2 separate regions of the Homo sapiens genome follow, and region 1 is linked to region 2. The links are contacts of gene promoters, found by promoter capture Hi-C in human tissues and cell types (Jung and others, 2019). All regions are on one chromosome and are shown on one strand. Each heading gives the region's core, a stretch centred on a gene start or on the middle of the fragment in contact. The rest is flanking DNA. Distances are from core to core; before and after follow the strand shown. Region 1 has its middle 15 kb from the start of SLC38A5. Region 2 holds the start of ELK1 (ETS transcription factor ELK1).

Region 1 (3,682 bases), core at 797-3,296, 810 kb after region 2:
CATCTCTTTTTGGGGTTCTTTCTGTTAAATATGAAGACTTGCTTTTTTTTCTTTTTGAGACAAGGTCTCACTCTGTTGCCCAGGCTGGAGTGAGTGGTGCAATCACAGCTCACTGCAGCCCTGAACTCCTAGGTTCAAACAACTCTCCCACCTCAGCCTCCCTGAGTAGCTGGGACTGCAGGTGCAAACCACCATGCCCGACTAATTAAAAAAAAAAAATTGGGGCTGGGCGCGGTGGCTCACACCTGTAATCTCAGCACTTTGGGAGGCCAAGGCAGGCGGATCACCTGAGGTCAGGAGTTTGAAACCAGCCTGGCCAACATGGTGAAACCCTGTCTCTACTAAAAATACAAAAATTAGCTGGGCACGGTGGCGCATGCCTGTAGTCCCAGCTACTCAGGAGGCTGAAACAGGAAAATCGCTTGAACCCGGGAGGCAGAGGTTGCAGTGTGCCAAAATCGTGCCATTGCACTCCAGCCTGAGCAACAAAGCAAGACTCTGTCTCTAAATAAATAGATAAATAAATAAATAAATAATAAATAAATAAATAAATATTGTGTAGAGACAGGATCTCACTATGTTGCCCAGGTTGGTCTCAAATTCCTGGCCTCAAGTCATCCTCCTTAGCCTCCCAAAGTGCCCAGATTATAGGCATGAGTCAAGACTTGCAGTTTTAAGGCCAGGTGCTGGAATTTCAGGTTACCATTATTATCAAAAAGAATGGTTTGTTGAGCTTAAGTTTAGTGGCAGTAAAGGGAGTGGACAAAGCTATATAAGAGCAATGTTTTGTATAGTATTGAAATTAAGTTGGTATCAATCTGAACTAGATTGCTAAAAATTAAGATGTTATTTTTAATCCCTAGTATGGTCTGAATGTGTCCCCTCCAAAACTCAGGTGTTGTCAATGTGACAGTATTAAGAGATAGGGTCTTTAAGAAGTGACTAGGCCATGAGGGGTTCTCCCTAATGAGATTAGGTGTCCTTATAAATGAGATGGAGGGAGTTGCTTCTCTCATGTCCTTCTGCCTTCTGCCATATGAGAATGCAGCAAAAAGCGCTGACCAGATGCTGGTGCCTTGATCTTGGACTTTCCAGCCTCCAGAACTGTGAGAAAATAAATGTCTGTTCTATACAAATTACCCAGTCTGAGGTATTCTATCATAGCAGCACCAAAAGACTACTAAAATCCCCTAAGTAGGACTTGCATCCCAAGGAAGTGTAAGACTTCTGCACTGAAAACTACAAAACATTGCTGAAGGAAATTAAAGACCTAAATAAATGGAAAGATAGCCCATTTTTCATGGATCGGAAGATTTAATGAAGTACTGATACATGCTGTGGCATGCATAAACCTTGAAAATATGCTAAGTGAAAGAAGCCAGACACAAAAGACCACAGTGTATGATTCCACTTATATGAATGCCAAGAATAGGCAAATCCGTAGGGACAGAAAGTAGATTCATGGTTCCCAAAGGCTGGGCGGAGTGGGGAGTTACTATTAATGGGTATGAGGTTTCTGGTGGGGGGGGGTTGTTGTTGTTGTTGTTTGTTTTTTTTGTTTTTTTTTTTTGTTTTTGAAACAAGGTCTCACTCTGTTGCCCAGGCTGGAGTGCAATGGTCCAATCCAGCTCACTGCAGCCTTGAACTCCTTAGTTCAAGCAATTCTCCCACCCCAGCCTCCCTGAGTAGCTGAGACTGCAGGTGCACACCACCATGCCCAGCTAATTAAAAAAAAAACTTAGGGACAGGATCTCATTATGTTGCCCAGGTTGGTCTCAAATTCCTGGCCTCAAGTCATCCTCTTGCCTTGGCCTCCCAAAGTGCTGGGATTACAAGCATGAGTCATCGTGCCCAGCCAAGACTTGCAGTTTGAAGGCCAGGTGCTGGAATTTCAGGCTACCGTTATTCTCAAAAAGAATGGCTTGTTGAGCTTAAGTTTAGTGGCAGTAAGGGATAAAGAACAGTGAAACAAGGAGCATATAGTATTAATCAACTACAGACAACTGCCCTATTTGTAAATAGAAGCAGGGAAATAATATATATGTGTAGTAGCTTATAAATGCGTAAAAATTATCTGGGAGGATAAGCAAATGTCTCTCAAACATCTAAAAGCTTCCTTCAGGCTGGGTGCGGTGCTTCATGCCTATAATCTCAGCAATTTGGGAGGCCGAGATGGGTGGATCACTTGAGCCCAGGAATTCGAGACCAGCTTGGGCAACATGGTGAGACCCCGTCTCTACAAAAAAATACAAAAAAGGCCGGGCGCAGTGGCTCACACCTGTAATCCTAGCACTTTGGGAGGCTGAGGCAGGCGGATCACGAGGTCGGGAGGTGGATCACGAGGTCGGGAGATCGAGACCATCCTGACTAACATGGTGAAACCCCGTTTCTACTAAAAATACAAAAAATTAGCCAGGTGTGGTGGCACACATCTGTAGTCCCAGCTACTCGGGAGGCTGAGGCAAGAGAATCACTTGAACCCGGGGAACAGAGGTTGCACTGATCCGAGATCGTGCCATTGCACTCCAGCCTGGGAGACAAGAGCAAGACTTCATCTAAAAAATAAAATAAAATAAAATAAAATAAAATAAAATAAGCCGGGTGTGGTGGCATATGCCTGTGGTCCCAGCTACTTGGGAGGCTGAGGTAAGAGAATCACTTGAACCCGGGAAGTTGAGGTTGCAGTGAGCTGTGATCTCACTACTGTACTCCAGGCTGGATGACAGTGAAACCCTGCCAAAAAAAAAAAAAAAAAACCTTATTTCATAAATACGGCTCATGCCTGTAATCCGAGCACTTTGGGAGGCCAAGGTGGGAGGATCACTTGAGCCCAAGAGTTTGAGACCAGCCTAGGCAACATAGAGAGATCTCATTTCTACTGAAAATTTTAAAAATTATCCAGGCATAGTGGCGCATGCCTGTAGTCCCAGCTACTCAGAAGGCTGAGGCAGGAGGATAGCTTGAGCCTGGGAGGCTAAAGCTTCAGTGAGCCGTGATGGCACCACTGCACTCCAGCCTGGATGACAGAGCAAGACCCTGTCTCAAAAACAGTTAAAAATTAAAAATTAAAGAATTAGAAATACACACACACACACACACACACACACACACACACGTATGTGAAGTGTAATGGCAATACCATTTTTTCTATGAGGTTGACAAAAATCTGTTGCATTGCTCAGGCTGTTGACAAGGCTGTGGTGAAAATGGCACTCACATACTCATGCTAGCTTCTCCTTGCTCTTGCTTGGACCAGCCATGCTCGTTCCTACCTCGGGGCCCTTGCACCTGTTGCTCCCTCTGCCTGGAACACCCTTTGCCAAAATAACCATGAGGCTTGCTCCTTTCAGCCAACCTAGGACCAAATTCATTGCCCCCTCCTTAGTGAAGTCTCGCTGAATGCCTCCTCACCCACCACCTCCCCACACCACTCTCACATCGCTCATTTTCTTCATTGCACCATCTTTATGAGGAATGATTTCTCTTTTATTCTCTTTGTTAGGTCAGAGGTCAGCTAACATTTTCTGAAAAGGGCCAGAGAGTTAATAGCTCAGGCTTTGCAGGCCATATGGTCTCTGTTGCAAATCCTCAGCTCTGCACGAGAAAGCCACAAACAATATGTAAATGAAGAAGACACTGTAAATGATATGTAAATAATTTAGACACTGAAATTGATATGTAA
Region 2 (4,220 bases), core at 243-2,742:
GAATTTAACCTCCCTATGGCCCAATTCCCTCACTACCTATCTCATGGGGTTGTGGTGAGGATTAAAGGAACTCATTCATATGAAACACTCTGCCTGATATACGGCAGGTGCTCAATAAACGCTAGCTCCTATTGGCATTACTATCATCACTGGCGCTAATGTATTCACTTATTGTAGTGAGGCAGAACGTCTTTGTGGTTACGAGTGTGACCAGGCTGACCCACTATTAAGAGGTGGAGGACAGGGAAGGCCGTACAGTGCTCCATCACAAGGAAAAGAGGATCAGCACGTTCTCTTCTGGGAAGGGAAAAAAAAAGAGAAGGAAATTGAAAGTACACGGCCGATCTTCCCCCAATTACAAAGCACTGGACTCACGGGAGGGTATGCGGGGGACTGTGCAAGCATACAGGGGTGTGGGGGAGGAAGGCCAATGAACAGATCCACTGCAAAGGGAGGGGTGATGAGGCTCATCGTCTGAGGGGAAGGGGAGCAGAAAACCTTACAGACTCCTGCACCACAGTGAGAGGAGAGAAAAGCCATCACACAGACTGATTCAAAGCAGAGAGGGAAAAGGCTATGGACTGAGCTACTGAAAATAGGGAGATGTAAAGCACTAAACTAACCCACTATTAAAAAGGAGAGAACCCCAAGCGCTAGAGCGACAGTCTACGAAAAAGAGGAGACAGGGCAATGGACTGATAGCTAAAGGGACGTGAATCCAAACATGAAGACTGATCCACTATAAAATGGTGGTGGTGGTGGTGGGGGGGGGGGGTGGTTTTGAAAAAAGCCATGGACTGATGCATTGGGGGACTGGAGGAGGCAGGAATACAAACTCAGGTAGACTCACTGTTAAAGAGGGATGCGGAGGAGTGCGGCGCCACGGATTGATTCGCTACGATGTACAGGAAGGGTGGAATAAATAAGGCCACGGACGGGTCTCCTGAAAGTTGAGGCTAGGAGAAATCCAAACACTCAGATACACCTACTATTAAGGGGGCTGAACACTGTCACAGGCTAGCTCCCTATAAGTGGGGGTGGGTGGGGGGCGGGTGGGGGTAGGGGTAGGGGGAAAGCCTATGGACGAGTCCACCCTAAGTTGGCGTGGGGAAAAACATAAGCACGCAGACCGATCCATTATACAACGGGAGGGGGAGGTTAGGCCACGGTCAGATCCACTATAAGGGACGAAGGGCTTGAGCAATGCCACACGCAGGTCCACCAGCCGTGGTGGTGGCGGCGGGGAGTCGAACACCAGCAGGCCACCGGCCAAGCCACATCCTCTGCGCGGGGGCGGGAAGGATACGTGGGGTCACGGACTGGGCCCTCCACCCTCCAGGCCCAGAGCTCACCTGTGTGTAGCGTGGCGGTGGCGTTGGCAATGTTGGCAGCTCCGGGGGGCGGGGGCTCCATACGCGGCCCCACCGCCCCCCAGGCCTGGGTTCCGAGGCGGCGGTGGAGGTGGTGGTGGCGGTGGCGGCGGCAGCACCTAGAAGCCGCCCCTGCGTTTCCCTACAGCTCACGTGGGCCCGAGGAGGAGGAGCCCAATGTCCCGCCGCTCGCTGATTGGCCAAAGCGCTATTAATCGGCCGCAAGGCCTCGAGGGGTTGGGGGACGGGCCCTTCCCTACAGAGCTGTGCCGTGATTGGCGTAAGGGGAAATGATGGAACGCTCACGGCCCCTGGAGTCCCGAGGAGGCGCGTTCGGCCTTCACGGTGCTCCACGCCGATTGGCTCAAGGACTGACGGACTGTGAGCAACTGAAAAGGCTCGGGGCCTGTGTCGGGGGGGCGGGGGTCTGCCTCACACTGATTGGCTTACATGGGATTGATGGAAGACAGCCCCCAAGGACGGGGGTGGGTGGCCCTGTTTTTCTCTGATTGGCGGACGAGGGACTTCTAGACCCCTGCCAAAACACCAAGGGGGCGGTGTCGCACGCCATGCTGCTCAGCGGAAGCAGGGCTTGTATAGAAATGGGCGTAGCAGCCGGCGGGAGTGGGTCGGACTGGGCTCCGCGTAGGCGGGCAGGGCAGCTCTACGGTTAGACAAGACCATAGAGCTGGGTAAAGACGAATTTAGAACACAGCGGAGGTAGGAGGGCAGGATGGCTGTCAGGCACACGAAAGAGCATTGAGTGGCAGAAACGAAATGCTTTCAGAGGGCAGGGTTGAACTGCGGCCAGAGTTAAAAAGGGGAGGAACCTGGCTCTGCATTGATTGGCGGTGGCTGGACTCAACCTAGAATAGGGGCCCGACTAGGGAGAGCGGGATCCAGGTCTGTGCCCATTGGAAGCTGGAACACTTACAAGCAGGGGCTAAGACAAGGTAGGGCTGAGTTAGGGTTTGGGTGTAATTTGGGGTACCTGGGGAATGATTGGGTGTGTGAAAGCGTAAACCTTAGGGCCCTTTGATTGTTGTGGGAATGAACAAACCTCCACCATGAATTGGCCCATTCTCTATGGCAATTCAAAGGGTGGCGTCTAGGAAAAGGAATGGAAGAAAGGGTGAGGTGGGGGGCCCAGGTTGCCAAGATGACAGAAGAGAGGGCAGTGCATAAGGTCAACTGGCAAATACTGCCAGGCAACAGGCTGGAGGCAGGACTGCTGGGGCATTTTGGAGGTTCCACAGAGAGACTGGATCTCTGGGTCTCTCAGTAACTTTGTGCCCTAGGAACAGGCCCCCGTGGCAACTAGCAGGGTTTATGGGGAAAAAGAAGGGCCATGTGACTCAAAGGCATTCAGGCTCTTTAATGTCTGAGGATGGGGGGAAGAAGTCAATGGTGAGGCTTCTCTGGGAAATTCTGCAGGCCTTGTAGTTCTCTAAGCCCCTGAAAAAGAGGACAGAAGAGATTGAACAAAGACTGGGTCTGGGTTACGCCCCCAGGCTTGCTCTGACCTCCCTCCCTTGACTCCAGTTTAGAGGGAAAGATGGTCCTTCCCTTCTTTCGCTCTCTTCCTTCTTCAGGTCACCACCCTAAACACAGAGTCTGGTAGTGGGGTGAGCTGCTCTCACCTCTAGCAACATGTGGATATGGGCTTTGATATTCATGGAGTCCTTGGTGAGGCTGTTGCTGAGCCTAGAGAAAAGAAACAAGAAAGGGCAAAATGGGCCCCACATGATTATGATGACCCTTCCTTATCACTTCAAGATCTACTTATATCCTGGATGATTTCCACCTGGCTCATTCCTATGTGGAAATGCCAAGCCACCATCTGGTTTTCACTGATTCAAAGATTATTAAATGCCTACTGTATGCCAGGCAATTTTAGGCACTGGGAGATAGCAGCAAACACAACAAACAAAACTCCCGGCCTGATGGACTTCAAATTCTTGTAAAGAAAGACATAACAAAAAACCAATGGAATAAAAGCTATGTGTCAGATGGTTCTAACTACAATAACAAAAATTAAAAATGAGAGACAATAAGGAGTACAGGAGTGGGGGGCTGCAATTTTAAAGAGGGCTCAGGGATGGCTTCACGGAGAAGCATTTGAGTAAAGACTTAAAGACAGTGAATTTTGAGTAGTGTGGCTATATGGAGGATGTGTTCCACACACAAGGGGCAGCAAACACAAAGGCACTGAGGTGGGAGTGTGCCTGGCATGTTTGAGGTGCAGCAAAGAGGCCACTCTGGCTGGAGAAGAATAAGTGAAGGGGGAATGTAAGAGGTGAGGTCAGAGAGGTAATGAGGGAGACAAACTGTGTGAAGCCTACAAGGCCATGGTAAGGACCCTGGCTTTGACCTTAAGTGAGATGGGAGCCAAGGGAAGGTTGCAGCAGAGGAAGGAGGTTGAATTACATGAACCAGTCAGTTGACTCCTTTTCTCTAAGCCAGTTTGGATCAGATCTCGCCCAAAAGAATCCTAATTGATATAAAGGGTCAAGGAAGGCCTTTCTCAAGAATGAAGAATGAGAAGGAATCGAAGAATGCCTAATGGTTAAGCAGTAGGAAGGCCTTTTCCACAAAAAGGACAAGAGGCAACAAAGAGCTGTTTGAGAAGCAGTGAGGTCAGAGTGTTAGAAATTGAGTGGGGAGGGAAAGTGGCCTAAGACAAGGTCCAAGAGATAGGAAGAGGTTAGATCACACAGGGTCTTAATATAATAAGGAATGTGGATTTTATTGTGCTGTCAATGTAGGAGTCAGTTTGAGGGGTAAATGAAACTAAATACTGTTGGAAAAGCAGAGAGCAATAAGATAGGATGTTAAATTGGAAAAAAAAGT

The links. The method cuts DNA at HindIII sites, captures the fragments that hold promoters and counts their contacts. A contact is called where the count stands out against the background at its distance.
Region 1: a contact is called between a fragment that was not itself captured here and the fragment with the promoter of ELK1 in region 2, in 1 of the 25 tissues and cell types used here (aorta).

What each region holds. Positions count from the first base shown.
Region 1 is chrX:48,453,540-48,457,221 of GRCh38, forward strand. No RefSeq gene overlaps it. Among named protein-coding and RNA genes, the nearest start is that of SLC38A5, 15 kb to the right of the region's middle. The HindIII fragment of the contact is 4,106 bases long and covers 1-3,682 here.
Region 2 is chrX:47,649,071-47,653,290 of GRCh38, forward strand. It overlaps ELK1 (ETS transcription factor ELK1), which reads right to left and starts at 1,493. Exons shown (of 7, transcript NM_001114123.3): 1 at 1,353-1,493; 2 at 851-956. It overlaps UXT (ubiquitously expressed prefoldin like chaperone), which reads right to left. Exons shown (of 7, transcript NM_004182.4): 6 at 3,011-3,074; 7 at 2,726-2,825. The coding sequence ends at 2,772. RefSeq lists a cis regulatory region at 956-1,936 and a silencer at 1,268-1,677. The HindIII fragment of the contact is 8,740 bases long and covers 1-4,220 here.